4 separate regions of the Homo sapiens genome follow, and all the other regions are linked to region 3. The links are contacts of gene promoters, found by promoter capture Hi-C in human tissues and cell types (Jung and others, 2019). All regions are on one chromosome and are shown on one strand. Each heading gives the region's core, a stretch centred on a gene start or on the middle of the fragment in contact. The rest is flanking DNA. Distances are from core to core; before and after follow the strand shown.

Region 1 (3,525 bases), core at 224-2,723, 180 kb after region 3:
TCATTGTGCACTGTGGCCTCGAACTCCTGACCTCATGCAATACTCTTGCCTCAGCCTTCTGAGTATCTGGAGCTACAATTGCGTACCACTGCAGCCCTATTAAAATAATTTTTTAAATGTTTCTTATGAAAAAATCTAAACACATACAAAAGGAGAAAAGTAACATTAATGAACCTTGATCTATCCATTACGCAGGTCAATAGTCCATGGCTAATCTTTTACCTATTACAATCTATCCTAAACCTCACCTTATTTTAAAACAAAACTGAAAGATGGTATCATTTCATTTGTATCAAGTGCATCTGTAAAACAAAGTTAGTAACTTTGACCCTGTGAGCTGGATAATTCTTTGTTGTCGGGGCTGGCCTGGGGACTACAGGATGTTTTGCAGCATTCCTGGCCTCCCTCTACTCTCAGTGCCAGTTAACACCCCCTAGCTGTAACAACCAAAAATGTTTCCACACATTCCCAAATATCCCCTAGGGGACAAACTGTCCCCAGGTTGAGAATCGCTGCTCTAAAAAGATAGACTTTTTAGAATATAACCACAATGACATCATCACACCTAAAATATTAACACTAATTCTTTAACATCAAATGACCAATTAACGTTCAAATGTCTTTGTTTTCAATTCAAAACTTTAAAAAGTAGTTTGTTCAAATAAGGATCCAAACAAATCCGTAACTTACCATGGCCTAATATGTCTCAAGACTCTTTTTCACTCTTAAATTTGAAGAAACCAGGTTAATGAGCTGTAGAAATTCCCAGTTTGAAATCTGCTAAATGAACCTCCCATCCCTGACCCACTGGGTTTAACAAATCCCTTGCCCCCTTGTCCTATAAATAGGGAGATGTGAATACTTATACCATAAGACCCATCGTGTCCACTGGTTATGTTAGCAGCCAATGATGGAATACTGTCAAGATCCATTAATTCATTAAAAATGGCAAAACAGTAATATTCTTATTTTATCATTCTTCATTTATTAGAATACCTCATATTAAACAATACTCAGAATAATTTAGGTAGAATAGGATAAATGAGACCACCTAATTTCTTTTATGAAGTATCCACCATCAACTCATGAACTTTAACATATTTGATGTGTTTCAATACTGTAATTATTATGCCCTTTTTTTTGAGTCAGAGTCTTGCTTCATCCTCCAGGCTGAAGTGCAATGGCATGATCTTGGTTAACTGCAACCTCTGCCTCCCAGGTTCAGGCGATTCTCTTGCCTCCTCCTCCTGAGTAGCTGCCCAGCTAATTTTTTGTATTTTTTATTTTTTAGTAGAGACAGGGTTTTGCCACGTTGACCAGGCTGGGCTTAAACTCCTGACATCAAGTGATCCACCTGCCTTGGCCTCCCAAAGTGCTGGGACTACAGGAGTGAGCCACTATGCCCAGCCAATTATTATGCTTATTGATTTTACACCAGTACCTCCTTTCCTTAATGACTCTAATAACTCATTTGGTTTATCTCGCAATTAGTCTGCCTTTTGTGGACTGCTTTTCTCCATTTTTTCAGGTTGCCCAGGGTTAACAGAATGGGTAACAAATAATGACAGATGAGAGAAACAGAAATAAATTCCCCAAATGTCAACAGTTAATGTAATAACTGTGTGTTTTATTATGATACTACAACTTTGCTTCTGTGTCAACATTATTTAGATAATTGCGTCATCTAAATAATTTGTTCCCCTTTCACTAGCTCCCCAGCCCTTCTAAATGCTGGAATAGAAAGTAAATTGCCAGGCCACACATGGTGGCTCAAGCCTGTAATCCCAGCACTTTGGGAGGCTAAGGCAGGCAGATCACTTGAGGTCAGGCATTTGAGACCCACCTGGTCAACACGGTGAAACCCCGTCTCTACTAAAATTACAAAAAAATTAGACAGGCATGGTGGCGTGCACCTGTAATCTCAGCTACTTGGAAGACTAAGGGAGGAGAATCACTAGAACCCGGGAGGCAGAGGTTGCAGTGAGCCGAGACTGCACCATTGCACTCCAAGCCTGGGCGACAAAGGGAGACTCCATCTCGGGGGGGGGGGGGGGGGGGGGGGGGGGGGAAGTAAATTGCCAAATTGATGGTGATTACAATATATAAAATTTAGATAAAATTTATGATATCATTGATAATGATCTTTTATATCTCTTAGTACACAAAGGTCAACAAATACAATTTGTGACAGAATATGTTAAGTTCTTACAGTATAAAGACTACACAGGCATATTTCACTTTACTGCGCTTTGCTTTACTGCATGCCACAGATACGACCTTTTTAAAACAAAAACAAAAAATTGAAGGTGTGTGGCCACCCCATATTGAGCAAATCTATTAATTCAATTTTTCCAACAGTCATGTAGTCATTTCATATCCTGGTGTCACATTTTGGTAATTCTCACAGCATTTCAAACTTTTTCATATCTGCTATAATGATCTCTGATCTTTGACGTTACTATTGCACTTGTTTTGTGGTACCACAAACTGTACTTGTATAAGACAGAAAACTTAATTGATAAATGTTGGGTATTCTGACTACTCCACTGAACGACTGGCTATTCGCCCATCTCTCTCCGTCTCCTGCGGTATTCCTAGTCTCTGAGACACAACAATATTGAAGTTATGCCAATTAATAACCCCACAATGGCCTCTAATTGTTCAAGTGAAAGGAAGAGTCACATGTGTCTCACTTTAAAAACTAGAAATGATTAGGCCGGGCACAGTGGCTCATGCCTGTAATCCCAGCACTTTGGGAGGCTGAGCGGGTGGATCATGAGATCAGGAGATCGAGACCATCCTGGCTAACACGGTGAAACCCCGTCTCTACTAAAAATACAAAAAATGAGCCGGTCATGGTGGCGGGCGCCTGTAGTCCTACCTACTCGGGAGGCTGAGGCGGGAGAATGACGTGAACCCAGGAGGCGGAGCTTGCAGTGAGCCGAGATTGCGCCACGGCACTCCAGCCTGGGCAACAGAGTGAGATTCCGTCTCAAAAAAACAAAACAAAAACTAGAAATGATTAAGCTTAGTAAGAAAGGCATGTCAAAGCGGAGACAGGCCAAAATGTAGGCCTCTTGCACCAAACCAGTAACCATGTTCTAAAGGCAAAGGCAAAGTTCGAATAGAAAAAGTGCCATTCTCATTGGGCACAGTGGCTCATGACTGTAATCCCAACACTTGGACTAGCCTTGGATGGCAAAACCTTATCTCTGAAAGAAAAAAAAAAAAATCCACAAAAATTAGCCAAGTGTGGTGGCATGTATCTACTGTCCCAGCTACTTAGGAGGCTGAGGTGGGAGAATCGCTTGAGCCTGGGAGGTTGAGGCTGTACTGAGCGGAGTTCGTGGCAATACACTCCAGCCTGGGTGACAGAGTAAGACCCTGTCTCAAACAAAACAAACAAACAAACAAAAAGAAAACAGAAAAGTCACTCCAGTGAACGCACGAATAAGAAAGCAAAGCAGCCATATTGCTGATATGGAGAAAGTCTGAGTGATACAGATAGAAAATCCAACCAGCCAC
Region 2 (3,379 bases), core at 343-2,842, 230 kb before region 3:
CAACAAACTCGCTTTATCTGTACTTCCATCCACTCATCCCCTACCTTATCAAGCTAATTCCAGGAGTATTGTTTAATTTGCAAATATTTCAGGATGTATCTAAAAGATAAAGGCTCTTATTAAAAACATAACCACAATACCATTCTTAGGCCCCCAAACATTTCACAATAAGTCTGTAGTGTAATTAACTCTCAAGTCAGTGTCTAAATTCCTGTAGAGTTTTTTCATTTGATTGTATTTTTTTTTTAATTGTAACTAGCCATTTAAGCTTCCAAAGATCCGAGTGGTAGAGAGGGGTAGTTCGAAACCAAGATAAATGGAATTTGTACAAATCGGACTGCAGTTAAATTTCATGTTCTTGGAACAATCTTTTCAACAGTCTTTTCCTTGCCTGTCTGTTCCAGCCTGTCTGCTCACCTGTAAAAGCAACAAGAGTAGGTAGGAAAACAATTACTCCTTTGCAGTTGAGACACTCCAAAGATTAAGCCTGTTAATTATTTGTACTCTCTGTTCTGGATTTGGCTTCTTCTTACCCTCCTCCAGGAAAATTGAGTAATGCCTAGTTTTGAGATGGGTAAGAGGATTGTCTCTTGAATGTACGTGGAACTATTAACAGCAACTTGAAAATGAAAAGAATTATGACTGAAAAAGAAAGAAAAAAAATGAGTAAGAGATACTGGAGGACATTGTAAGATGGATCTAAGGATAAGGATAAAATAACAAGATTAGCCAGGGAATTTCTAGGACAACAGTTGGAAAATCATACCCTGGGTAAAGGATGTGAAAGAAGAGATTTGGGGCAGGAATTTTACCAACAATCTAAGATAAAACTTTCCTATCTTGTAATCATTATTGTTTTATGTTAAATTAGAGTTGCCAGATAAAACACAGGATGCTTAGTAAAATCTGAATTTCAGATAAACAATGAATACTTTTTAAACTATAGCTATGACACAAAGTATATAGACATGCTTATACTAAAAAAAGTATTGTTTGGCCGGGAGCGGTGGCTCACTCTTGTAATCCTAGCACTTTGGGAGGCCGAGGTGGGTGGATTACAAGGTCAGGAATTTGAGATCAGCCTGGCCAATATGGTGAAACCCCGTCTCTACTAAAATTACAAAAATTAGCTGGGCATGGTGGTGGGCGCCTGTAGTCCCAGGTACTCGGGAGGCTGAGGCAGGAGAATCACTTGAACCTGGGAAGCAGAGGTTGCAGTGAGCCAAGATCGTGCCACCGCACTCCAGCCTGGGTGACAGAGCGAGATTCCGCCTCAAAAAAAAAAGTATTGTTTATCTGAAATTGAAATTAAATTTGAGCAACCTGTATTCTTATTTGCTGAATCTGGCAAGTTCATATTAAATGCATGGTAGCCAGGCACGGTGACTTATGCCTGTAATCCCAGCACTTTGGGAGGCCGAGGCAGGCAGATCACCTGAAGTCAGGAGTTCAAGACCAGCCTGACCAACATGGTGAAACCTCATCTCTACAAAAATACAAAAAATTAGCCAGGCGTGATGGCGAGTGCCTGTAATCCCAGCCACCTGGGAGGCTGAGGCAGGAGAATCACTTGAACCTGCGTGGCAGAGGTTGCAGTGAGCTGAGATCGCGCCATTGCACTCCAGCTTGAGAGACAGAGTGAGACTCTATCTGAAAACAAACAAACAAACAAACAAATAAATACATAAATAAATAATAAAAAATTTAAAAAAATATTAAATGCATGGTGATTCAACTTGTAAAACCGAGGACTATTTGGCCTTTAGGCTCTTAGTTTTCTTTCTTGGGATATGATTGAGTTTTCCTTATTCAGTCTACTTTTCTTATATATCTATCTAACATTATAGCATTATATTTTAAAAATTGGCCCAGTTTACATTAGCACCAAGTATAAGTGTATAGTCATGCACTGCACAATGATATTTTGGTCAGTATGTATGTTTTGGTCAATGATGTGTGGTCTGCATATATGACAATGGTCCATAGTTTATGATTCCATATTTTTACTGTACCTTTTCTATGTTTAGATACACAAATACTTACCATTGTGTTACAATTGCCTACAGTGTCCAGTACAGTAACACACTGGACAGGTTTCTAGCTTAGCAGCCATAGGCCATGCCATATAGCTTAGGTATATATTAGGCTAGGTTCGTGCAAGTCCAGTCTGTGATGTTCCCACAATGATGAAATCGTCTAATGACGCATTTCTCAGAATGCATCTCAGTCTAAACAACGCATGACTCTACTTATTTTCTTCTACACTTAGCAATATTAGGTCTGATTAGTCTTTTCATTTTTGCTAACCTGCAGGGCAAAATGTTTGAGAGCTATTAGTTTAGAGCACTTCTTAAATGAGGCAAACTTTTCTCTTGTGATTCCTATAATCAAGGTTTTATTCAAAAATAATTTTAAATTTTATTCTATATTATAGGAATGTGTACAATGAAATGTAATGATGTATAATACATTGGCTGTTTTTGAATTCCAACCATGGATTTCCCAGCTACTGGCAGTGAAACTGATCTTTTCTGTACGTACTCAAGTCAACACTCAAGAATTTCAACTTACCTTTAGCGAAAGCAAATATTTATATTTAAAAAGAAAACATTTGAATTCAGAATTCATTAAGATAAAAAAGTTAGCAAACTACAGATGCCTTGTTAGTTGACAGTCCTAATGGCGACGTCTAGGTCAGATAACTTATATTGACTTAAAACAGCATTGTCTTGACTTTCCACAGTCGTATTTGTGATTATGGAAATAATTTTAAAAAGACTAGTCTCTTTAATTTACATTTTCACAAAACGCTGTTGAAAGAGCAAATGTCTGCTCAGTTGTTTTTCCTTTGCTTAAAAAAAAAAAAAGTGCCAGGAATCCCACCCCACCCTGCTGCTGGGTAACAGTCAATCATTTATTATTCCTGGATCAAACACAAGCATTCATGCCTATGAAAACGTTTGGCAATGAATGGGATCTTGGTCTCTACTAAAAACAAAAAATGGCTAAAAGGAGACTTCAATTTATGTTCAAATTCTATGGCTGAATTCCTATAATTCCTAACTGGTGAAAATATTGGCAAGCTACAAGATTTTACTTAGAGTCAGATTTACTTCTTTGGTGTATGCCCAGAGGTGTTATTGAAAGCTATTTGTGGCCAGCTTTCCAGGAGACCAAATGGGCCTTAAATGGAATGAATATTGGCCCTGCAGTACAGTGCACAAGGAGAAGGAGGAGAATTGGACACTTTTATTAAAAAAAAAACAAAACTCATTGGTTATACTTAACTAATTTCTACATAGAAGTTTTAGTATTTGGCAAAGCAAAAAGTCATATCTCAGAATCACCAAACTTACTATATCTGAACCCTTTCTGTTGT
Region 3 (3,145 bases), core at 25-2,524:
TCTTAGGAGCAGTTTAGGGAGGGTTAGAATCTTGTAGCCTCCAGCTACATGACTCCTAAACCATAATTTCTAATCTTGTGGCTAATGTTAGTCCTACAAAGGCAATCTAGTCCCCAGGCAAGAAGGAGGTCTGCTTTGGGAAAGGGCTGTCTTTGTTTAAACCGTAAACTATACATATAGGTTTCTCCCAAAGTTAGTTCAGCCTTTGCCAAGGAATGAGCAAGGACAGCTTGGAGGTTAGAAGCAAGATGGAGTCAGTTAAGTTGATCTCTTTCACTGTCTCAGTCATAATTTTGCAAAGGCTGTTTCAAGCTGAGATCGCACCACTGCACTCCAACCTGGGTGACAGAGCGAGACTCTGTCTCAAAAAAATAAAAATAAAAATAAAAATAAACTCATAATAATCTTTGAAGTGGGTACTACTATCAAATATTAGTTCCATCTCACAGAGGAGGAAACTGAGGTTTAGAAAGTCTGATCAACTCGCCCAAGTCCACCTTTGATGGAGAAAGCTGACCCACTGAAGCCCCCAACATTTTCCAACTGGACACTTGGAAATGTTGGGGGAACATTCTAGTTTGCCAAGGAGCTGAAATCATCCGGTCTTTAAAGACCCTCCCATGCCCCCGTTTGTGGTTAACTCCTTCATCCCTGCTCCAGGGAGTGGCCTCCACCTCTCCATTTTGAAGGAGAATGATGTCTGTGGCCACCAAGGTCAGAAGCCAAAGGACAGAGCTTTTCTCTGATGCCCAGGAGCCTTGGCAGGAAGAGTGCTTGGAGAGTTGAGAGTCAGAGACTGGGGAAAGCTGGGTAGTCAGGAGCTTCCAGAAGGGTAGGAAGAATGCGAGGTTCCCCAGGTTCTGGGCCCTGCTCGGCTTCCAACTGGCTATGTGATTTTGGGCAAGTGCCTTCTCTTCTCTGGGCCTCAGTTTCCCTCAAAATGGGAGGATTCTTCTAGGTCTAATAATCTCTTCCCTTTCCCCACCTCCCCTTATCTCTCCTACACAAACTGCTCCCCACTGCCCCACCCAGACTGGCTCTGATATTCCAGAAGCCTTTAACTACGGTTTGAAAGTCCCAGGTGGAAGTTGCCGCCCATCCCTGAGGTTCCTCCTGAGCTCTGGGCCCAGGGCTTTAGGTCCTGCTAGGGTATGTGGCCTTGGCAGGTTGGAGAGATCAGAGGGGAGGAAGGCCCAGTGCCTCTGAGACAGGCCTCAGGGAGGCCTGCATTGTGATGACCTGATCCACTCTATGACATCATCCTCTCTTCCACCCTCTCTTCTCCCTGGTCAACCGCTCTGCAAACAACCATCAATCTGATCCCACAGGCCTGAGAAAGTCTGCTCTCCAGTACCTGCTGCTGATCTGTTTCAGCCGACAAGAGGCACCATGAAATTGGAATTCACGGAGAAAAACTACAATAGCTTCGTGCTGCAGAACCTGAACAGACAGAGGAAACGCAAAGAGTACTGGGACATGGCCCTGAGTGTGGACAACCACGTCTTCTTTGCACATCGCAATGTGCTGGCTGCTGTCTCCCCACTGGTGAGGAGCCTCATCTCCAGCAATGACATGAAGACCGCTGATGAGCTTTTCATCACCATTGACACCAGTTACCTGAGCCCGGTCACAGTGGACCAGCTTCTGGACTACTTCTATAGCGGCAAGGTGGTGATCTCCGAGCAAAATGTGGAGGAGCTGCTTCGTGGGGCTCAGTATTTCAACACACCACGCCTTCGAGTTCACTGTAACGACTTCCTTATTAAGTCCATCTGCCGTGCCAACTGCTTGCGCTACCTCTTCTTGGCTGAGCTGTTTGAGCTCAAAGAGGTATCAGACGTAGCTTACTCTGGCATTCGGGACAACTTCCACTACTGGGCCAGTCCTGAGGGCTCCATGCACTTCATGCGCTGTCCACCTGTTATCTTTGGCCGCCTGCTCCGTGATGAAAACCTTCACGTGCTCAATGAAGACCAGGCGCTCAGCGCACTCATCAATTGGGTGTACTTCCGGAAGGAGGATCGGGAGAAGTATTTCAAGAAGTTCTTCAATTACATCAATCTCAATGCTGTCTCCAATAAGACGCTGGTGTTTGCCAGCAACAAGCTGGTGGGCATGGAGAACACCTCATCCCATACAACCCTGATTGAGAGTGTCCTGATGGACCGCAAGCAGGAGCGGCCATGCAGCCTGCTGGTCTACCAGCGGAAAGGGGCCCTGCTTGATTCCGTGGTCATCCTCGGTGGCCAGAAGGCCCACGGCCAGTTCAATGATGGAGTGTTTGCTTATATCATCCAGGAGAACCTGTGGATGAAGCTCTCAGACATGCCCTATCGGGCAGCAGCACTTAGTGCCACCTCTGCTGGTCGCTACATCTACATCTCTGGTGGCACCACTGAGCAGATTTCAGGGCTGAAGACAGCCTGGCGGTATGACATGGATGACAACTCCTGGACCAAGTTGCCTGACCTGCCCATCGGGCTTGTCTTCCACACCATGGTGACCTGTGGGGGGACAGTGTACTCAGTGGGCGGGAGCATTGCCCCAAGGCGGTATGTCTCCAACATCTATCGCTATGATGAGCGGAAGGAAGTCTGGTGCCTGGCAGGAAAGATGAGCATCCCCATGGATGGCACCGCCGTGATCACTAAAGGAGACAGGCATCTGTACATTGTCACTGGACGGTGCTTGGTGAAAGGTTATATCTCCCGGGTCGGGGTAGTGGACTGCTTTGACACCAGCACTGGGGACGTGGTCCAGTGTATCACCTTCCCCATTGAGTTCAACCATCGGCCCCTGCTCTCTTTCCAACAGGACAACATCCTCTGCGTGCACAGCCACCGGCAGAGTGTGGAAATCAATCTGCAGAAGGTGAAGGCAAGCAAGACGACCACCTCAGTGCCTGTCTTGCCCAACAGCTGCCCCTTGGATGTGTCCCATGCTATATGCTCCATTGGAGACAGCAAGGTGTTTGTATGTGGGGGTGTCACCACTGCCAGCGATGTCCAGACAAAGGACTACACCATCAATCCAAATGCCTTCTTGCTGGACCAAAAGACAGGCAAGTGGAAGACCCTGGCTCCTCCACCAGAGGCACTGGACTGTCCTGCCTGCTGTCTAGCCAAGCTACCTTGCAAGATTCTTC
Region 4 (3,544 bases), core at 804-3,303, 220 kb after region 3:
ACATATGTTTGACTGCAGAAATCTCAGCTCTATTCAACACAAACCTAAAGACCTTCCTAAGGAATAAAGGACACAATCATAAGCACAAAAGTAAATGACTGCCACATTTCCAATGCTTGATTTGGCCAATGCAGTGGTCACACCTGTAATCCCAGCACTTTGGTATGCCAAGGTGGGAGGATCGCCCCAGTTATCTACAAAAATTAAAAAACAAAAATAAATGTTTGACTTGATTATGGGTTAATCCTCTTAAATTCATATGTAAATATACTTACTCTGTAACATTAAAAAAAAAATCATGAACATAATGTGTTCCACTGTGCTGTGACAGTGAATTCTTCTTGGGGGGTTAAGGCTCGTGGTCCCTTCTTGTACCTACACTAAAAGTTACATACTTTAACATGGTCTTCTTTTTAGAGTTTCATTGCCTCATTCATTCACTCAATCCTACATTTAAGCATCTATTTGGTGACAGGCATTAAACCAAAAACAAAGGCATCGTTTCCTACTTTTTTTTTTTTTTTTTTTTGAGATGGAGTCTCGCTGTCGCCCAGGCTGGAGTGCAGTGGTGCCATCTCGGCTCACTGCAGGCTCCACCCACTGGGGTTCACGCCATTCTCCTGCCTCAGCCTGCAGAGTAGCTGGGACTACAGGCGCCCGCCACCCCGCCTGGCTAATTTTTTGTATTTTTAGTAGAGACGGGGTTTCACTGTGTTAGCCAGGATGGTCTCGATCTCCTGACCTCGTGATCCGTCCGCCTCGGCCTCCCGAAGTGCTGGGATTACAGGCGTGAGCCACTGCGCCCGGCCCGTTTCCTACTTTCAAAAAGTATATGCTATAAGAAAGAAACAAAAGTAAATCACTGCAGGATGTAAGTATTATGGTAACGCTAGGCACTAGGTGCTATGGAGAAGTAGCTGCCAAGAGACAGCAGTGTAGTCAGGAAACTGCAAAACGTTTAGTATGGCTAGATAGTAAGGAAGCAGCCAGAAACCGATCATAAAATGAAATGCTATTAATATCCCTGCTGTTAATATATTAATACCCTTACCTTCCTTAGCCTTTTTATAGTATTTTGTTTCTGCTTTGCTATGGACCTGGTAAACAGATAACTGTGCCCACTGGTAAGAGTAAAAATACTTCCAAAGACTCACCTAGAAGTAAAAAACAAAGCACTTGAAAGCAGAAACTTTAGAATTCATTAGTTTTCTGTACAGAATGTTCTGATCTCTATACTACAAACATGAATGTGCTATCCTTTACCATTACGCAGAAGTATGCATTGCTGAATCAAGGCGTATTTACTGACTGACTCCTACAAGCCAAGAATTACATTAGGAATATAGAGACAGGCCAAATGCAGTGGCTCACACTTGTAATCTCAACCCTTTGGGAGGCCCTGGTGAGAGAAGAGCTTGAGTACAGGAGCTCAAGACTAGCCTGGACAACATAGAGAAAACCCCATCTCTACTCAAAAAAATAAGTAAATAAATAAAAATTAAAAAAATTAAATTAGTGTGGCATGGTGGCACACTCCTGTAGTCTTAGCTACTCAGGAGGCTAAGGCAGGAGCTTCACTCGAGCCCAGTAGTTTGAGGTTACAGTGAGCTATGACTGCAATACTATACTCCAGCCTGGTCAACATGGTGAGACAATTTCTAAAAATAAGTATTTGTTAATCTAATAAGATATAAAAACATGGGCCCTAACCTCAAGAAGCTTATTCTAACAATTTTTGAAACCCAGATGCAAGCAGCCAACTGTAACATAATATTTAAAGGCCATAAAACAGGGAAAAATTAGGAGTAAGAGTTCTGAATTAATGTGAAGGTAAGAGTTAAGATTTCATAGAAAAAGGAGTATTTCACATTCCTGACTCAATCTAAGGAGGGCTTTTGCCACTCTCTCAAAATGGTTTGCTTCTTTATGTAGGAATCTTTTTGCATCCTCTTAAGCTTTTCATTTGCTCATTATGTATCCTTTGTAGCGTGTTATCCTAAGGCCATCCTGCCTTCAACTATCATGCCCAAAGCAGTCTTACAAAATTGCTAGTACAAGTAGCTGGCTGGGAAAAGACAAATCAAGGTTATGTTTCTTCTCCTTCATTCCTTGTTCCTTTGAAATCTTAAGATCTTGGTCATAGACAAATGAAAAACTGGCCAACCTGGTCCCTGTGGCCATAATTTTCAAGCATATCCTCTCCTACTCACAACAGTTTCCTTTGATCAGAGGCTCCATTTGTCTTAAAAAGGATGGACCAATATAATGGAGAAAAGCTATATTCAAAATAAGTCTGGGACAAAACCATAGATGGGCTTGATTAAAATGAGGTACAATTTTTACTACTAGGTAAAATAAAATCACACACACACATTGTGTGTGTGTGTGTGTGTGTGTGTGTGTGTGTGTGTGTGTGTGTGGGGCAGGCAGTCCCATACATAGGTTGCCCAAGATTACCTCTGGTGTCCATCTCCTGTACAACCCCCTTCCCCATGTGCGCAGGCAGGGCTGTGAATGTGATGTATTTCATTCCCATTATTAGGTTAAATCATATGACAAAGGAGGAAAGACGTTCAGATGTAATGAAGATTCCAAGTAAGGTGAATTCAAGCTAAAGACAGATTATCCTGGGTGAGCCTGGGCATGACTTAATCAGAGAAAGCAGAACTGAGTCCTTCCCAAGAGATTCTCTTGCCAATTCTTCAGACTAAGATGTTGTGAGAAGGCATGCGAAAGGTACCATGTGGCAGGGGCTTGAGGGCAGCTTCTAGGAGCTGAAAGCAGTCACCAGTTGACGACCAGCAAGAAATGGGGGACCTCAGTCCTATAATCACAAGAACCACATTCTACCAGTGAACTTGGAAGGAGACACGGATGAAATCACAGCTCTGGGCCGGGTACAGTGGCTCACGCCTGTAATCCCAGCACTTTGGGAGGCCGAGGCGGGCAGATCACAAGGTCAAGAGATAGAGACCAACCTGGCCAACATGATGAAACCCCATCTCTACTAAAAATACAAAAATTAGCTGGGCGTGGTGGCGCACACCTGTAGTCCCAGCTACTTGGGAGGCTGAGGCAGGAGAATCACTTGAATCCGGGAGGTGGAGGTTGCAGTGAGCCAAGATCGTGCCACTGCACTCCAGCCTGGCGACAGAGCAAGACTGTCTCAAAAAAAAAAAGAAAAGAAAGAAATCACAGCTCCTGCAAGGTAAGACCCTGGGGGCCCAGCAGCTAACCCCATACCAGGACTCCTGATTCATGGAAATTGTAAGGAAATATTTGTGTTTTAAACAAATAAATTTGTAGTAATTTGTTACAGAAAACACAATGTGTATGTATATAACTTGAATAAAAATTATTGTACCACAGTGAAAAAGTTTCTTCTCCAGAATTTTGGCTACACTGATTTGATTACAAAAGATATAAAAATTAACACATTTTTATTTAAGCAGTATAGCAGGTTTTAAAGCCTCAATCTGGTAACAGCTAGCTTCATGCCAGAAACTGAACTGGGCTCTCCCATCTTTATACACTGAACATCAGG

Evidence for each region. Contacts are between HindIII fragments. The study calls those that stand out against the background at their distance.
Region 1: a contact is called between a fragment that was not itself captured here and the fragment with the promoter of CCIN in region 3, in 2 of the 25 tissues and cell types used here (IMR-90 fibroblasts and pancreas).
Region 2: a fragment that was not itself captured here is called in contact with the fragment with the promoter of CCIN in region 3 in 2 of the 25 tissues and cell types used here (aorta and lymphoblastoid cells).
Region 4: a fragment that was not itself captured here is called in contact with the fragment with the promoter of CCIN in region 3 in 1 of the 25 tissues and cell types used here (hippocampus).

What each region holds. Positions count from the first base shown.
Region 1 is chr9:36,345,082-36,348,606 of GRCh38, forward strand. All of the region lies in intron 9 of RNF38 (ring finger protein 38), which reads right to left. Among named protein-coding and RNA genes, the nearest start is that of RNF38, 53 kb to the right of the region's middle. The HindIII fragment of the contact is 5,567 bases long and covers 1-3,525 here.
Region 2 is chr9:35,933,273-35,936,651 of GRCh38, forward strand. No RefSeq gene overlaps it. Among named protein-coding and RNA genes, the nearest start is that of OR2S2, 23 kb to the right of the region's middle. The HindIII fragment of the contact is 7,970 bases long and covers 1-3,379 here.
Region 3 is chr9:36,168,114-36,171,258 of GRCh38, forward strand. It overlaps CCIN (calicin), which reads left to right and starts at 1,275. Exons shown (of 1, transcript NM_005893.3): 1 at 1,275-3,145. The coding sequence starts at 1,390. The HindIII fragment of the contact is 27,142 bases long and covers 1-3,145 here.
Region 4 is chr9:36,391,104-36,394,647 of GRCh38, forward strand. All of the region lies in intron 1 of RNF38 (ring finger protein 38), which reads right to left. Among named protein-coding and RNA genes, the nearest start is that of RNF38, 7.4 kb to the right of the region's middle. RefSeq lists an enhancer at 661-1,161. The HindIII fragment of the contact is 3,014 bases long and covers 547-3,544 here.